2 separate regions of the Homo sapiens genome follow, and region 1 is linked to region 2. The links are contacts of gene promoters, found by promoter capture Hi-C in blood cells and fetal thymus (Javierre and others, 2016). All regions are on one chromosome and are shown on one strand. Each heading gives the region's core, a stretch centred on a gene start or on the middle of the fragment in contact. The rest is flanking DNA. Distances are from core to core; before and after follow the strand shown.

Region 1 (6,172 bases), core at 2,123-4,622, 130 kb before region 2:
AGTTTTAAACAAATAGTAAATTAATATCCTGCCTTAGTGAAGATTTGTCATGTGCAAATTGGTCCAATGCAGTACTGTCAAACTTGAATTAAGCATAGAAGACTCCACACTTCAAATCTTTATCAGTTAAAAAAAAAAAAAGTAAATAGGCATATTTTTAAATCTCTGATAATATACATTTTTCTGCACTTTTAGGGTCTGGCTAATTTAAGAGAAGAGTATACATAAATTAGAATATACTATTCTGAAATATAGTAATTTATATATTGCCTAACTTCTTAAACAACTGCTTTTGGTCTTTATGATTATCGCTTATATGAAAGTTTAAAATGGCCGGGCGCAGTGGCTCACGTCTGTAATCCCAACACTTTGGGTGGCGGCGGCAGGCGGATCACCTGAGATCAGGAGTTGGAGACCAGCATAACCAACATGTTGAAACCTCATCTTTACTAAAATTACAAAAATTAGCCAGGCGAGGTGGTGCATGCATGTAATCCCAGCTACTCAGGAGGCTGAGGCAGGGGAATCATTTGAACCCAGGAGGCGGGGGTTGCCATGAGCAGAGATCATGCCACTGCACTCCAGCCTGAGCAACAGAGCGAGACTTCGTTTCAAAAAAAAAAAAAAAGGAAGTTTAATATTTGTTGCAGGCTAATAGCATATGTTGGAGTAACTTGATTATACAGGAAGAAATAAAATACTATTTGTAACTCTGAAAGTTATGGTTTAATTTTTTTAAATACTGCAACTAGTTTTGATATGCCAGAAAACTCAGTAATGAGGTATCATATATACCCACAGCTAAACCATTAACTCAAACTCAATTGCTATATATTTTAAATTTAAGATTTTACTATACATATATTTATCACTGACAAATACATAAGTTGTGAATAACAATGAGAAGGGTGAAACGTTTTCAATTCGGGTCAAAAGTAATTATTGATGAAGGATTCAATAAGCAACAAAGAAGTATAATGACAATTTTCTATCTACAGGATAGTTTGAGAGCTAAAGTTAGAGTATCTGTCCTAAACTTCAAAACAGACCCACTCCACCCCACCCCCCAAAAAAAAGTCTTAGAAAAAAATACAAGAGTAATATGATACCTTGACATATTCCATAAATACAGTTTTGATGTGAGGAGGCCAAAAATTAATAGTAGCATGCTGATCATACAATATTAATGTAAGCAATAATTCTGGACCAGACCATAGTAATACTCCCACAAGTGATACCAGGAAATGTGAGAGCACAGGCATTTGGCTTTCAAGTCTGGAGAGCACTACTCACATGCAATGGGTAGGGATCAAAGATGTTAAATATCCAAGGGATCCAGACAAGCATTAAATGCCAATAGCAAGTGTCCTATTGCAATATTTCAATGATGTAATTTTCCCAGCATTTGAAGTTATACTTTTAAACTATGGGTTAAGAATTCAATAAGCTGTGGGTTATCCCGAGAACCCTGTGTTAAGTTCTGTACGCTCTCAAATTTTAATATGTAATATCAAACTAAAACATCTAATCTAAAGAAAACAGAAGAGACTATTTCTACCAAATGAAATGCCTCAAAAGATGTTCTTCACAAATAGAGGAGTACTGAAGGTTTCAGGACTAACTGTAGAGATGAATTCCAAAGCCAGCCTCATTCAACGACCAAGCCGAACTGAGACTATGTTCATTCAGTTAACTGATAAGACCTATAGGTAGAAACATGAAGACTCAAAAGAAGGGCAAAGACAGAACTACAATGAAAAAACAGCCAGAAGCAAAATGATTTTCCTGAATTTACAGACAGAAAACACACAAGAATCCTGTCTCCCAGCTCTCAGTCCATTGCTCTTCCCATTATGCCATGACAATTACCCAAAATTATATCAAAATATTATAGCTTAGTATGATTTTATAACTCTTCTCTCTCAAGAAAGAAGAAAACAGATTCCACCAATGTATAACCTCTACTAAGAAGCAGAAAACATTTCAGCTTCTTATTTGAAACATCAAAGAAAAGGCTAAGATGTTACTGTGTGTGTGTGTGTAGATTGTATTTATATATATATAAAATACCTAGTAATATAATTACCAAATGAACTGAATCTGGAGTCAAAAGGTCCAGATTCCAGATCCTGTTCCACCTCTAGCTGTGTGGTATTAGGTTGGTCACAAAGTTTCTGAACACAAGTTTCCTCATCTGTAGAAGGGAGACAATAATACCTACACCTCATAAGGGTATTGAAATAATCAAGAATAAATATATAACATTCCTTGTTTTAAAAAAAAAAATGTCAAATATGAAACTCAGTTCAGCTAGTAGTAAGTGCAAAGACAAGTGAAGAAGCTGGCAGTGTTATTTCAAGGCAGGTAACCTACACTCGAAAAAGTTGGACCAAAGGAACAAAGATCCCTTTTCTTTCCCACTATGGCCTCTATTCTTCTGTGCCTGCCTAGCCCCTCCCCAGCAGCTCTTAGAAGATGGCTTCCAAGAGCTGAAGTTGGGGGTTTAACATAGAGTAATGGAAGCGGACATCTAATGTCTGAAAGAAAGAGAGATAATAATATAAAAGGAAAAAAAGCAGAGGGGGGGAAAATGGGGATACAAAGTTGACAACGGGAGTCTTCGTTTTCTATTCTGGTTGCCAATCACCATATTTTTGCTCATGAAGTACACAGGAAGTATCTTGTTTCACCTTTAAGAAGACCCTAATAATGAAAATAGAGGCGGGCGGATCACGAGGTCAGGAGATTGAGACCATCCTGGCTAACACGGTGAAACCCCATCTCCACTAAAAATATAAAAAATTAGCCACGCATGGTGGCGGGCGCCTGTAGACCCAGCTACTCGGGAGGCTGAGGCAGGAGAATGGCGTGAACCCGGGAGGTGGAGGTTGCAGTGAGCGGAGATCGCGCCACTGCACTCCAGCCTGGGTGACAGAGCAACACTCTGTCTCAAAAAAAAAAAAAAAAAAAAAGAAAATACAAGTAACATGCCCCACCATTTTCAATCCAGAACTCTCCCCACCTCAGGAAAATGAGCAGCATCACAAATGGTGATCCAAATATCACAAACAATGAGACATAAACACTGAGTGTCCCAAAAACCCATAACTACAGTTTAATCATAAGGAAAACATCAGACAGATTCCAAATAGGGGAGCATTCTAAAATATACCTCATCAGTACTCCTCAAAACTGTCAGGGGAGGGAGGAAGGAGATTTGAGAATACCTAATCTGTTCAATTTTTTGTAAATCTAAAACTGCTCTAAAAAATAAAGCTTACTTTTTACAACAAAATGAGTAGCTGAATCTAAAGACATGAGAATATCTGAAGATTTAGGAAGAATTTTACCAAATTCCTACAGAATCATTACATCCTTAAGTACAATAGTCTGTAACTGAAAATGCAAAATGGCAGAAAGTTTTTAGTTTAAGATCACATACTCACTTACCCAGGAGGCATTTTGTGAGCAAGCTTTAGAGACAAAAATATTAATGTGGTGCTTCTCAAACTTCACTGTGCATCAGAATCACTTTGAGAACTTGTTCAAACTAAGACTGTTGGGCTCCACATCTATAGTTTCTGATTCAAGAGACCGGGGTAGTGCCTATGAACTTATATTTCTAACAAGTTCCTAGGTGATGCTGATGGTGCTAGTCCATGGATCACACTTGGAGAACCACTTGTTTGAGACTTCACAGCTACTGTATTAATGGATAATATACAAATAAAATCATATGAGACCCTGAGTTTTTAGTAGTACTTACTAATGAATAGGGAGAAGAAATCACAGACTTTGTGATAAAATCATCCAACCATTGAAGGGGCAAAGAGGTTTCAGAGTATGAAAGTTTCGAACATGAAAAATCATAGGAAAGAGTGAGCTGTACAATCTGCTGACTAATCCAAGTAACAAAAAAGTACAGATTATCATAAAAGACAAATATCCAAAAGTACTGCACTATTAATATGCAGCCCATGACATAAACTTATACTTTAAAATGACATCATGAAATTGAGTACATTTTAAAACATAGAAGAAAAACAAAAGAAGCTATGGAAATTGTAAAAGTATTGACTTAAGATACTGACTTTTAAAAAAGGAGAAAGAAATACAAAGGAAAATACAGCACTACTTAAGATCTTAAAATATACAAAACAAATCAAAGAATAAACTAATAAGAATAGGAATACAAAAGCTTCTCTTACTCTGGATAAAGCAGAAGTTTTTTTTAAAAAAAAAAACATAGAAATGAAGTATCAGAAGGAGAATCTGTTGTATATAGCTCAGAAGATAATATACTATTGATTAAACTCTACTTGGCACAATTTATATTCAAAGAGCCTGGGGTCCTTTCCACTCATCTTTCAATTAATAAATTTGGATTTCTAAACTAGGCAACTGAACTTATACAGTAAATCACAGCTCCTCCACAACACTCCACCCCCACTGTAATGGGAAGGGTATTGTCCCATCCCAACATTATCAATGACAATAGCTTTCATGGCTAAGGCAGAGACTCGGCAGAGTATGAACCCAGGTGATGATGTCAATGGAGTTGTGGGTACCAGGGGCTTCCTGCCTACATCTCTTTCATGCAGTGCTTCCCTTTTATTAAAATAAAGGCTAGAAATAAAATAATAAAGGCAGGCTTTCTTTTCCTTTTACCTGCCACTCTTGATGAGGATTTCTCTCCTCTTTATCTCACTACAGAAGAGAGAGCAAGACACAGTTTTCCTCTTTTGATTCTAAGTACCCTATTTTGGAGGGGAAAAAAGTTAATAAATATATAACATTTATTAACTTTTGTGGAAAAATTAAATTTCCCTTTGGGTTTCAGAATTACCACTTTTTCTCATAAAATTATTTATTTCATTTGGTCCATTCAAATGTCAGGAATCAGGATATTTCCCTGTATGCGTTTCAAAATAAAAAGCTCCTTCATCTATTGTGGCTTTTACATTATGCTTATGAGTCTTGCCTAACTCAAGTAGCATAAATTAGGATATTATACAGGCATCACTTTCTCCTATACTTTGAAAATTCAACATTCTCTGAAAACTCCCCTTTGTTTCAAGTAGTAAGTTAAGACATATTTAATATGATAAACTACCTGAAGGTGCTCCAACCCAAGCCAGACCAAGTACGCCATCATCAAAATCTCGGTCTGTGAAGACATAGGCCAAACAGTAGTCATCATGATTCTGCTCAGAATTCAATTCCAGAAACTTCTCCACACCAATATTTGGGAAACGGAAAGGATTTGTAGGGTCCTTCTCATCAGCAGTTGTATTGATCTAAAATCCAAAACAATAATTTAGTAAGTAATTAATGTTAGCAGAGCTTTAGTGTGAATGTCTGCTCACCTTCTTCTGCGTACACCTGGACAATATGCTCCCATGGAAATCAGGCCTGAATTAAGGCTTCTAAGGTTGTTCCCACTGCCCACATCCCTGAGCTGATCACAGAAGGCAAAACAATAACAACAAATAAAAAAGAAAGGCTAGGTAGGGAAATTAAAATTGAAGATGTTAAATTTCTGAGCAAGTATTCACCAGATTCCTGAACACTGAACACTTGGGAAGAAAAAACAAGTTTTGCTTTCAAAACCTTTAGTAAAGGAAGTATAGTTTTTCAAATTTAATTCTCTGAACAAGTCTCCTTTAGTCCTAATCTCCTACATATGGTGACACTTACAAGGATATAAAACCCTGTATTTTAACTAATTACTAGAATATAAAATAGGTATCAAACCCAAGACTGTCAGTTCAGCAGACAAATCATTTTCCTGGTTTTCCTTGCCTAGAGAGTCACATGAGCCAAGCCAAACTAACTGCAAATTTATTTTTTTTTCCTGAATGTGGGCAAGAATTTTGCTAATTTAAACTCACTTCTTTTACTCTTTGAAGCTGAGTTCTTCCAGAATGTTTCTTTTGATACTTAGCTACTATACTCCTACCACAGGTTCCTCCTTCAGAATCTGAATAATCTGTTCTAATACCAGACTTCTATTAAACAAAAGCTTTTATTTATTAGCCCCTGCATCCTTTCAGAGACCTGTGTGTCTCCTCTGAAGTCCTAGAACGATTTGGCTTTCCCCAGGTAAGCCAAGGAATTACAATATGAAAGTAAATGTTTTTACCGAAAGGCAAACCTCAGTCTGTTTGAAAAT
Region 2 (6,327 bases), core at 3,673-6,172:
TAAAATACCTGACTTAGTGGTGAATACTTACATAGCTCTAATGCTTTAATCTTTGAGTATGTAATAAAAAATTGTTTAATAACTGGAAGATTGGAGCAATAGGAGGAAGAATGATATGAAAGGAAAGAACTAAATCCTCATCTTCCATGGGAATAAATCAATAAACAATATATACAATTATTTTTTTCTGTCCAGTGAATGCAATACAGTGTTTTGGGTTTTTTTAGACGATCTTATTCTGTTACCCAGGCTGGAGTGGAGTGGTGCCATCGTAGCTCACTACAGCCTCGAACGCCTGGGCTCAAGTAATCCTCCCACCTTGGCCTCCCAAAGTGTTGGGATTACAGGCATGAGCCACAGCACTCAGCCTACAACTGTTAAATGTAGAAACCAGAGTGTAAACATGTTTCTCAGAAGCAAGGGTACAAAGAGCTAAAGAACAGCTATGAGGCTGGGTGTGGTGGTGAGCGCCTATAGTTTGTGCTACTCTGGAGGCTGAGTCAGTAGGATTGCTTGAGCCAAGTTAGAGGCTGTAGTGTGCCACAACAGCCACTGTGAATAGCCACAGCACTCCAGTCTGGGCAACATAGTGAGATCGTGTCTCAAAAAAAAAAAAGAAACAGCTATGAGTTGAAAGAGACTGTGAGGCTGTTTATAAAGAACAGGACTCAAGGGTCTGGAAGGACAGAACAGGGAAGTGCGTCGTTTTTATATAAACTATTTAACTTTTAAGACTATTATATCTGAAACTTTGAAAAATAATTTTTAAAATTTGGATAGCAGCCAGGTGCAGTGGCTCATGCCTATAATTACAGCATTTTGAGAGACCAAGTTGGGAGGATTGCTTGTACTCAGGAATTCAAGACCAGCCTGGGCAACATATGCTACAAAAATTTTAAAAACTAGCAGGGCATGGTGATATACACCTGTAGTCCCAGCTACTCAGGAGGCTGAGGCAGGAGGCTCACTTGAACCTGGGAGGTTGAGATTTCAGTGAGCCATGATTGCGCAACTGTGCTCCAGCCTGGTTGACAGAGTGAGACCCTGTCTTAAATAAATAAATTAATTTAATTAAATAAAATTTGGATGGTACTATTTAACTTAAAAACAGCAATCTTACCTCAGAGTTTACCTAAAGATACATATACGCAAAATAAGAATAAAATATCAGTTTGTCTTCTGGTATTCTCCCTAGATGCCACTCCCCACCTCCCTTAAAAAATAACTATGTACCTTTTCATGAACTTAAATAACTACCTATATTTTCACAGCTGTTTATCTAGGCTTAATTGTTGACAACAGCATGAAAAGAAAAACTGGTTCTGTTTGTTACAAAAAAAATATTAAATGATGCCATGTGAGCATTTGAAACGCATACCAATAAAAACTACCACAGCAAGTACAGGTTTATCCAAGTAAAGGTTTTGAAAAATGGTGAAGGGCCATTATTTGAGAAGTGTATGCCATGATTTTTGGCTCTCCTATGGCTCACAGGCCTATAAATGATTCATTCATTTAATTTATTCATATAACACAGCTTTATACATTTCCTTTTTACATTTGAGGTACTATGCTAAATTCTAAATTTCCTGAAATCTGTATTCCTTTTTTTTTTTTTTTTTGAGATGGAGTTACACTCTTGCTGCCCAGGCTAAAGTGCAATAGCGCAATCTCGGCTCACTGCAACCTCTGCCTCCCAGGTTCAAGCGATTCTCCTGCCTCAGGCTACCAAGTAGCTGGGATTGTGGGCGTGTGCCACCACACCCAGCTAATTTTGTATTTTTAGTAGGGACAGGGTTTCTCCATGTTGGTCAGGCTGGTCTTGAACTCCCGACTGCAGGTGATCTGCCTGCCTCAGCTTCCCAAAGTGCTGAGGTGACAGGCCGTGAGCCACTGCGCCCGGCCTTGAAATCTGTATTATTCTTATTTATATTTCATGGCCTAAAATACCGTAAAATGCTTAAACCAGCAGCATATATTTTAATCTATTAACATCTCCAATTCTTTTTTAGGCAGAAAATTCAAATTTAAGAACAGGATTTATTGTTTATGGATTGACATGGAGATCAAAAGCACACACAACTCCTAAATTCAACATTCTGAAAAAGCTCTCCATTATCTTTTCTAATTTTCCTGTTGTCCAAGAGTAGGATGTGGGTGGAGGATTACCTAGGTGCCGAGGCAAGAGACTGAAGGCACAAACTGTTTCAGTATAATAAAGAAAATAGTTAGAATAAGAATAGTCATAATACAAATTAGATATAGAGATGATCATGGACAATTATCAATCATTATTATAAACATGATTAATCATTAGCTTTTAATATTACTCTTTGTTGCATTACTAATATAACCTAGGAATAACCAGCGGGTATAGGGTCAGGTGCTGAAGGGACATTGTGAGAAGTGACCTAGAAGACAAGAGGTGAGCCTTCGGTCACGCCCGCGTAAGGGCCGCTTGAGGGCTCCTTGGTCAAGCGGTAACGCCAGTGTCTGGGAAGGCACCCGTTACTTAGCAGACCGTGAAAGGGAGTCTCCTTTCCTTGGAGGAGTCAGGGAACACTGCTCCACCAGCTTCTTGTGGAAGGCTGGATATTATCCAGGCCTGCCTGCAGTCCTGGGGCCTAAATCCCTCCCTGTGGTGCTGTGCTTCAATGGTCACGTTCCTTGTCCACTTTCATGCTCCTCCCATACTCCTGGTTCCTCTTTGAAGCTCGTAGTAGATAGCGGTAGAAGAAACAGTGAAAGTCTTAAAGTCTTTGATCTTTCTTGTAAGTGCAGAGAAGAAAATGCTGACGTATGCTGCCTTCTCTCTCTGCTTCAGCTACCTAAAAGAGAAGGCCCCCGCCATCCTGTAATCACGTGACTTGCTTCATCTTGTCAATCACTTAAAAGATTCACCCTCCTTACCCTGCCCCCTTGTCTTGTATGCAATAAATATCAGCGAGCCCAGCCGTTCGGGGCCACTACCGGTCTCCGCATCTTTACGGTAGCGGTCCGCCGGGCCTAGCTGTTTTCTCTTTATCTCTCTGTCTTGTGTCTTTATTTATTACAATCTCTCGTCTCTGAACACGGGGAGAACACCCGCTAAGCCCCGTAAGGCTGGACCCTACAGTTGGACATATACCATAGTATCATGTCAATGCGGATCACAAGGTCAGAAGTTAGAGACCAGCCTGGCCAAGGTAGTGAAACCTCGTCTTTACTAAAAATACAAAAAAAATTAGCTGGACCTGGTGGCGTGCGCCTGTAGTCCCAGCTACTTGGGAGGCTGAGGCAGGAGAATCACTTGAACCCGGGAGGTGGAGGTTGCAATGAGCTGAGATGGCGCCACTGTACTATAGCCTGGGTGACAAAGCGAGACTGCGTCTCAAGTGGGAAAAAAAAAAAAAAAAAAAAAAAAAGGGGCACAGTCTTCTGCATTCTCAGGTAAACAAGAATATAAGTATCCAACATTCATGTATTATATGTAATACATATTATGTGTGGCCGGGCATGGTGGCTCACGCCTGTAATCCTAGCACTTTGGGGGCCGAGGTGGGCAGATCACGAGGTCAGGAGATCAAGACCATCCTGGCTAACACGGTGAAACCCCGTCTCTACTAAAAATACAAAAAGTTAGCTGGGCGTGGTGGCGGGCGCCTGTAGTCCCAGCTACTCAGGAGGCTGAGGCAGGAGAATGGCGTGAACCCGGGAGGCGGAGCTTGCAGTGAGCCGAGATCGCGCCACTGCACGCCAGCCTGGGCGACAGAGCAAGACTCCGTCTCAAAAACAACAACAACAACAAATTAGCCAGGCATGGTGGCGGGCGCCTATAGTCCCAGCTACTCGGGAGGCTGAGGCAGGAGAATCGCTTGAACCCGGGAGGCGGAGGTTGCAGTGAGCCAAGATCGTGCCACTGCACTCCAGCCTGGGCGACAGAGAGAGACTCCGTTTCAAAAAAAAAAAAAAACAAAAGCAAAAACAAAAACAAAAAAACATATAAGTATGTATTAAAAAATAGCAATAAGAAAAAAAAAGACAGTAAGCTCCATGAAGATATAAGCTCCGTGATCCACTATGGCATCTCCAGTGACAGACAGCATCCAGCAACTTACTTGGTACTAAAATGTATTAAAGGAATGAATGAAATACTACTTTGCAATCTTGTCTGCCTTCTCTAACCAACAGAGGTGCAAAAATATCACATTCTAATTATGTATCAGGTATTTATATGTCTGCGAAGGAAGACCTGTCTCGTTAATTTTTTATCCCCAACAGCCTAGAAAATGTTGAAAGAAAAAAGATGGGGGAAAAAGCCCTTTTCTGTAACAAGTTAGAATAGGACCCACATACATTTTGTTACTAACAAAACGTCCAGCTTGTCTTTCTTCTTTGAAAACTGCATGGCCTTAAGAGGAGTCCATTCTAATTAGGAAAAAAGTCACCTTTTCAGAAGCAGGCGCTTCCCACTCCATGCAAAGTGAAGCCAAGTTAGCAAAACCGCAAAGACTTGGCTAATTCAAATACAAGCTAATTTATTATTATTGGCGCAAATTAGCCACTTTCTTTTGCTACGCATGTCAATGTCCACAATCATACCGACCCTTTCCTGTAGGGCGAATGTCTCACCAGTAGCTGGTGAGAAGCACAGCTCTTCTCAGCCAAAACCGACAGAGACTGGAATTTGTGCAGTGCAGTAATCCAAAGCCGTCGAGTAGATATGCCTGCTTTAAAATCTGCATCTCGTAAGAAATGCCTTAATTTTCCATATTAGGAGCTGAGAAACCAAGTCCCCTGAGCCCTTCAGGGACAAGTTCTTTTCCAAATACTACAACCACCTCCAACCACCCAACAATGCCTCAGGCCGAGGGTGGGCCACACGCGACCCAGCGCTAAAGGGTCACAGCCAAGCTGTCCGCCTCCTGCCTTCCCTTTAAAGAAGCCGCACACAAGGGAGCTGCCCGGGAGTTCAACTTCCGGCCACATAGTGAGAGGATGTTTTCCTACTGGAGCTGAGCCGCGGGGGCGCGCCCCCCGGCCGCGCCCTCCTAGCCACGCCCTCCACGCCCGGCCTTCCGAGAGCGAGCTCGGTCGGACGCACGGAAAGGGCTGGGCCACGTGGGCGGCTGCTGAGTGGTTCGCCTTCGCCTCTCAGCGCGCAGTCAGGCGGAGGCAAGCTCAGAGCGCACGGACAGAGCGGTAGCGCGCGCCCGCGCGCGTTCTTAGTACTCTCCCCGGTGACGTGCCTGACCGAGGCCGCGCCAGGGCGCTGTTGCTGCCAATACAGCTGTCATGGCGTCCAAGGCGCTGGCTGCGGAGAAGTGGCCGCGGTCTCCATAGAGCTGGGGGCGGGCGGCCCGGTATGGAGAGCAGCCCCGAGAGCCTGCAGCCGCTAGAACACGGGGTGGCGGCCGGGCCAGCGTCAGGGACAGGTTCTTCGCAGGAAGGGCTACAGGAGACCAGGCTCGCCGCTGGTGATGGTCCTGGGGTATGGGCGGCGGAGACCAGCGGCGGGAATGGGCTGGGGGCGGCGGCCGCCAGGAGGAGCCTCCCGGACTCGGCTTCTCCCGCGGGCTCTCCTGAGGTTCCCGGACCCTGCAGCTCCTCCGCGGGTTTGGACTTGAAGGACAGTGGTTTGGAGAGTCCTGCTGCCGCCGAGGCGCCTCTGAGAGGGCAGTACAAGGTGACCGCCTCCCCGGAGACAGCCGTGGCCGGAGTGGGTCATGAGTTGGGTACCGCCGGAGACGCGGGAGCCCGCCCGGATCTCGCCGGCACCTGCCAAGCAGAACTGACCGCCGCCGGCTCCGAAGAGCCCAGCAGCGCCGGCGGCCTCAGCAGCAGTTGCAGCGACCCGAGCCCTCCTGGGGAATCTCCGAGCCTGGACTCTCTGGAGTCGTTCTCTAACCTGCATTCTTTTCCCAGTAGCTGCGAGTTCAATAGTGAGGAGGGAGCGGAGAACAGGGTCCCTGAGGAGGAGGAGGGCGCGGCGGTGTTGCCCGGGGCTGTTCCTCTGTGCAAGGAGGAGGAGGGGGAGGAGACCGCTCAGGTGCTGGCGGCCTCCAAGGAACGCTTCCCGGGACAATCTGTGTATCACATCAAGTGGATCCAGTGGAAGGAAGAGAACACACCCATCATCACCCAGAATGAGAACGGACCCTGCCCCTTGCTGGCCATCCTCAATGTTTTGCTCCTGGCCTGGAAGGTACATTCTGCAGCTTTCTACTTCCTACAGCTTTTGGGGTGGAGGAAAACGGGGTGAGGGAGCTGCTGCATGTCAGGTGATGGCTTCCTTTCTTTCCTCATTCATCAGTCCCCTTCTTACATGAAATTCATTCCAAGACTTCC

Evidence for each region. The method cuts DNA at HindIII sites, captures the fragments that hold promoters and counts their contacts. A CHiCAGO score of 5 or more calls a contact.
Region 1: a fragment that was not itself captured here is called in contact with the fragment with the promoter of MINDY2-DT in region 2 in 1 of 17 cell types (naive CD4 T cells); the score reaches 5.1 in naive CD4 T cells.

The regions. Positions count from the first base shown.
Region 1 is chr15:58,635,664-58,641,835 of GRCh38, forward strand. It overlaps ADAM10 (ADAM metallopeptidase domain 10), which reads right to left. Exons shown (of 16, transcript NM_001110.4): 8 at 5,114-5,297. Among named protein-coding and RNA genes, the nearest start is that of ADAM10, 110 kb to the right of the region's middle. The HindIII fragment of the contact is 197 bases long and covers 3,275-3,471 here.
Region 2 is chr15:58,766,052-58,772,378 of GRCh38, forward strand. It overlaps MINDY2-DT (MINDY2 divergent transcript), which reads right to left and starts at 4,923. Exons shown (of 2, transcript NR_135474.1): 1 at 4,336-4,923; 2 at 2,021-2,828. It overlaps MINDY2 (MINDY lysine 48 deubiquitinase 2), which reads left to right and starts at 5,251. Exons shown (of 9, transcript NM_001040450.3): 1 at 5,251-6,184. The coding sequence starts at 5,345. RefSeq lists an enhancer at 4,188-5,113 and a silencer at 4,926-5,205. The HindIII fragment of the contact is 12,290 bases long and covers 1-6,327 here.